2 separate regions of the Homo sapiens genome follow, and region 2 is linked to region 1. Evidence: promoter capture Hi-C in 16 types of primary human blood cells and fetal thymus (Javierre and others, 2016). All regions are on one chromosome and are shown on one strand. Each heading gives the region's core, a stretch centred on a gene start or on the middle of the fragment in contact. The rest is flanking DNA. Distances are from core to core; before and after follow the strand shown. Region 1 holds the start of SMC1A (structural maintenance of chromosomes 1A). Region 2 overlaps CXorf38 (chromosome X open reading frame 38).

Evidence for each region. The method cuts DNA at HindIII sites, captures the fragments that hold promoters and counts their contacts. A CHiCAGO score of 5 or more calls a contact.
Region 2: a contact is called between a fragment that was not itself captured here and the fragment with the promoter of SMC1A in region 1, in 1 of 17 cell types (fetal thymus). The highest score is 11.3, in fetal thymus.

What each region holds. Positions count from the first base shown.
Region 1 is chrX:53,421,186-53,423,907 of GRCh38, reverse strand. SMC1A (structural maintenance of chromosomes 1A) reads left to right here and starts at 1,254. Exons shown (of 25, transcript NM_006306.4): 1 at 1,254-1,416. The coding sequence starts at 1,308. It overlaps RIBC1 (RIB43A domain with coiled-coils 1), which reads right to left and starts at 1,035. Exons shown (of 8, transcript NM_001031745.5): 1 at 904-1,035; 2 at 506-594. RefSeq lists enhancers at 947-996, 151-1,122, 1,287-1,466, 1,657-1,706, 1,827-2,006 and 1 more. The HindIII fragment of the contact is 3,638 bases long and covers 325-2,722 here.
Region 2 is chrX:40,644,177-40,646,876 of GRCh38, reverse strand. The region is part of intron 2 of CXorf38 (chromosome X open reading frame 38); the gene reads left to right. Among named protein-coding and RNA genes, the nearest start is that of CXorf38, 2.0 kb to the left of the region's middle. RefSeq lists enhancers at 1-135, 1,823-2,052 and a silencer at 2,346-2,640. The HindIII fragment of the contact is 2,604 bases long and covers 51-2,654 here.

The DNA of each region.
Region 1 (2,722 bases), core at 5-2,504:
AGGGTCTCACTATGTTGCCCAGGCTGGTCTTGAACTGCTGGTCTCAAGTGATCCTCCTGCCTTGGCCTGCCTCCCTCACGATGGGATTACAGTTGTCAGCCACCATGCCCAGCCACTTCCTCACTTTCCTGGACTTGTCCTAAGTCTTTAGGACTCTTTCTAGCCTTCGGACATAATTTAATAAATAGTTAAAGGAATAATTATGGCAACCACCAGATCCTTTCCATGTTTAAGTCTGAGAATGGCACCAACTTACCTACTGGTTTCACCTGCCATTACAGTATAAGGTCACTGAAGGGGAAGATTCAGCTGACATTTTAAGCTTCTTGGATTGCTAAGGCCCCTGCCTTATTAATGATAGAGAGCAGAGAGGGAAGAGAGGTAAGGTGGCATTGTGGTATAGAGCTGTGGGAATGGGATGGGGGAGAGGCATGGAGGCAGAGGTAGGTGGAGGTGGAGAGCGCTGGCTTAGGGACCCTGACTCCTGGGGGTTCACACAAAATACCTTTCTCAGTAAGGAATCCCGATTTTGAAGCTCTTAGGTTGGCTCTGCATGCAACTTTGTTCTTGGGTTACGGCGGCAGTTTCTGAACTCTGCTTGGTACAACAGGAGGGAGGCAGGGGATAGGGGTAGTATCTCAGGCCGTAGCCTTCCCCAGCCTGTATCCCTGTTGCCTGGGAGTAGCCCCAGTCCCATTCACAACCCGTCCGCCTTCGCAACCCGTCCCGCCACCAATCCCACCCCACCATTAGCAAAGTCTGAGCTCACCTAACACTGAATCCTCCCGTTGGCCCCTCCTTCCCGTCCAGCTCTCCGCTCCCCCCGGGTCCTTCCAATTCCCGACCCTGTCCTTGTCCTAGCCTTGAAAGCTGGCCAGGCTAAAGCCACAGCCGAGCTCCCACCTTCCTCTTGCCCTGAGGGGCATAATCCTGCTGTGACTTCTGTCTCAGCAAGCGTGAGCTCAGGTCTCCCCCGCCTCCTTGAACCTCAAGAACTGCTCTGACTCCGCCCAGCAACAACTCCTCCGGGGATCTGGTCCGCAGGAGCAAGTGTTTGTTGTTGCCATGCAACAAGAAAGGGGGGCGGAGGCACCACGCCAGTCGTCAGCTCGCTCCTCGTATACGCAACATCAGTCCCCGCCCCTGGTCCCACTCCTGCCGGAAGGCGAAAATCCCGTTAGGCCTGGACGTATTCTCGCGACATTTGCCGGTCGCCCGGCTTGCACTGCGGCGTTTCCCGCGCGGGCTACCTCAGTTCTCGGGCGTACGGCGCGGCCTGTCCTACTGCCGCCGGCGCCGCGGCCGTCATGGGGTTCCTGAAACTGATTGAGATTGAGAACTTTAAGTCGTACAAGGGTCGACAGATTATCGGACCATTTCAGAGGTTCACCGCCATCATTGGACCCAATGGCTCTGGTGAGATAAACCTGGCCGCGGCCCTGCGCACGTCCCGGCCTGGACCCCTTATCCGGTGCCGGAGTAGTACAACCCAGCCCATGTAACCTGAAACGTCGCGGACCCTTACGGGTTCCTTGCCCGTCCAGAGGGGGTTCTGCTCGAACCCACTCTCCCCGCGCGGGTGCTCTAACTCGAACCCCTTCCAGGTGTCACTTGCCGCTTCCTGCGCGGCCCCCGCCCCGGCCCAGTGGTACAGGCCGAGCTGCCAGTTACCCCGCCTACTTCCCCCTCCCGCCAAAGGAGTCGCGTCTGGAACCAGCTTCCCGCCAGCTCAGTCCTCCGCCGCGCGGCTCCCCGCCGGACCGGCCGGAGCCGGCTTCCCAGCCTTACTTGACCCCCTCCGGAGAATGTGGGGACGCTGGTAGCTCTCCCGTGGCCTTCGGTCCCAAACGGTGCACTTCTGTTTCAGCCCAGCGTCCTCTCTCGCCTCGCATTGGTACACTCCAACTCCTTTCTACTCTTCTCTGGAGGCGGCACTTTTGAATTTCAGACCCAGCGCTCCAGTCTTTAGAATGCTTGAGGTGTCGATCCCCACCCCCCACCGCTATGTCAGAGGTAGTTGCCTCGAACTCGCCCTTTTCCTACCACCGAAACCGTCAAAAGCCGAAATTAACTAATTTACCAAATTTGTTGAATGCTTATTGTTTATCAGGAGTTATTCAGTTGCAAGTTGTGGAAACAGCGGAGAATAGAATAAACCAACTCCATGCTCACAGGGAACTTATATTCCAGAGGGGAAAGAAGATAAGGAGAAAATAAGATGGTTTTAGGCTGTCATAAGTGCTATACAGGAAATGAGACAGGTGGATGTGATAAAGTGACTTAGGTGGTGTCTTTAGAAAGGGTGGTCAGGTAAAGCCTCTATTTTGTGTCTTCCCAACTCTAAACGATACACCGTGGATTCCTCTCACCTCAGATGTCCATTTGGAATCCTGCTGTATTCTTCCACCCCAGAGATGTTCTAGCTGAATGATATCCTAGCCTAAGAGGCTGCCCTTGCTGAAGTAGCACATACTGAGTACCTTTCCTGGAGACTGAGTGTCTCAACAGTGGCACTATTGACATTTCCAGCGAGATAATCCTTTGCTGTGGGATGTGCTCTGTGCATTGTAGGATGTTTAACAGCATCTCTGGCATCTACCTGCTAGATAACAGTAGCACCCCTGCTCCCCAGGCATGACAATCAAAACTGTCTCTAGACATTGCTAGATGTCACAGAGGGTGTGTGTGATTCCCCCAACCCCCCAACTTGTTTGAGAACCAC
Region 2 (2,700 bases), core at 103-2,602, about 13 Mb after region 1:
GGTTCAGGGGTGGTATGCGGGACCCAACCCAGCTTAGTGAAGTAGAAGCTTTCTTCTACCCGTCTGCTTCCTGAGGGCATTTGAGTTTGTTACCCCTGCTTGGAAAGTTACAGGAAAGAGTTCTACAAGAGATACTGGGGCAAGATGCAGAGCGAGCATCATGAGCACAGGCAGGGAGGGAGGGAGACTCTTGTGTGGCCTGTTTGAGGGTAAGGCTCGCTGAACAGCTCATCAGCTCTTTTTTGGCTATAGGATGCCGTAAGGATGACAGAGTAAGCCAAGGGAAGTTAGGGCTAAAATAGCACCTTAAGTGCCCAGTTAAAGGCACTTTGGGTAGCTGGGAATGGGGTAGGCAGCCGGATCTGTCTTCAGATCTTGGCAATGTCACTTACTAAGTAGATCGAGTAGGAAATTTTTTTGCCCAGTAAGGGACGGAGAGGGACAGCCAGAAGTGGCTTCCTAACACAAATTGACTTTAGCAGTCAGTCTACATGCCAGTAGTTATCAGCAGGCACAGGGTGGGCACTGGAAAGGAGCAGTGCCTGGGAAGCAGATGATCTGAGTCCTGGATCAGCTGCCGTGGTGTGACACTGGGCCAGCTTGTGCTCCCCAATCTCAAAAATGAAAGGACGGCCGGGCGCAGTGGCTCACGCCTGTAATCCCAGCACTTTGGGAGGCCGAGGCGGGCGGATCATGAGGTCAGGAGATCGAGACCACGGTGAAACCCCGTCTCTACTAAAAATACAAAAAAATTAGCCGGGCGCAGTGGCGGGCGCCTGTAGTCCCAGCTACTCGGGAGGCTGAGGCAGGAGAATGGCGTGAACCCGGGAGGCGGAGCTTGCAGTGAGCGGAGATCGCGCCACTGCACTCCCGCCTGGGCGACAGAACGAGACTCCGTCTCAAAAAAAAAAAAAAAAAAAAAAAAAAAAAAAAAAAAAAAAAAAAATGAAAGGAATTGGGGCCGGGCGCGGTGGCTCATGCCTGTAATCCCAGCACTTTGGGAGGCCAAGGTGGGAGGATGGCTTGAGCTCAGGAGTTCAAGACCACCCTGGATAACATGGCAAAACCCCGTCTCTACAAAAAAATACAAAAATTAGCTGGGTGTGGTGGTGCATGCCTGTAGTCCCAGCTACTCAGGAGGCTGAGGTGAGAGGATCACTGGAGCCTGGGAAGTCGAGGCTGCAGTGAGCCGTGATCACACCACTGCATTCCAGCCTGGGTGACAGAGCAAGACCCTGTCTTAAAAAATTGAACTGTATCAGGGGTCCCCAGACTTTTGGGTATCACGAGCCGGTAAACCCACCACACCTACACCATCTTCCCCATTTTTTTCCACTGCAGCCATAGAGTTGCTGACTTCTACTTCTACCTAGAAAAGAGAAAAAAAACAGAAAGAAAGAAAACTCTGCCCTTTACAATGCCTGTCCCTCATCTGTTTGGTCTGCGTTGCTGCTTTCACACCATTGGAATCCTCTTGTAGCCTGTACTACCTCCTTATACCACTCTTTGCTCCTCTTGGTTGCTGTCACCTACAGACCTTCTAGTCCAACCCCATCCTCTCAGTTTCTGGGCTCCTGATTCCAGCATCCTCTGCTTCACTCCCCCTCAGCCTCCGGCTTGCATGCCCACACCCTGGACCTTGGCACAGAAAGTCTCAGTGTCTAACATCCTGCTGGCCTTTGGCACACTTATTCATGCACCCCTGCCCCCAACCCTGTGCCCCATACTACTTCCGCCTCTTTGAGGCTTCCACTGCTTCCTGAATACCCAGCACCCTCTGTCCTCCTGCCTGCCTTTGTCACCTCAGCTAGCCCAGATTCCATGGCCCATCATTATAATCCGTCCCTTGCTGTTATCTCAGCTTTTTTTTTCTCCTTTCTCTGAACTTGCCTGGCCCAACTCCAGTCCTGATGACATTTTCTGCTTCTGATTAGTGGGAAAGAATCTCACAAGGGAACTGACTGGTTTCACTTTCATTCTTGATCATGAGCCCCAGCGGTCTGGCCACATCTCTCTCTAGGCTTCAGTTTCTGGAGACTACTACTTTTCCCTGGCAAATCCCTGCTCCCGTTCCTCCGCCCTTGCTCATGCTTCACGGAATTGATGGAGGCCCTTGGACATACATAGTTGTCTCTCCTTATCCATGGGGTATTGCTTCCAAGACCCCCAAGGATACCAAAATCCACAGATGCTCAAGTCCCTGATATAAAATGATGTATGTGGTATTTGCATATTACTTACATACATTCTCCTATGTACTTTAAATCATCTCTAGATTACTTATAATACTTGATAGAATGTAAGTGCTATGTAAATAGTCGTTATGCTATATTTTTAAAAAATTTCGATTACTTTTTACTGTTGTATTATTTTTCTGAGAATTTTTCATCCACAGTTGGTTGATTCTATGAATGCGGAACTCGTGGATATGGAGGGCTGACTATACTTCCTCTTCTTTTTGCCAACACCAACTAATCTCCATGTGCACCATCTATTTCCTTCTGCTACAGAGGAGGAAGGGTGTCTCTCCTCTTATTGCCTCATACCTCCACTCGTGTGTTGGATCTTATCCCTTTTCTCTTGCTCAAGGCCTTTGAGGCTTCAGCTGTCCACTCTCTCTCTTGCAGCTCATTCCCATCTCCATAGAAAAAGCTTTAATATAGCCATGGTTTATTTAAATTTTTTTAAAAGAAACAATTA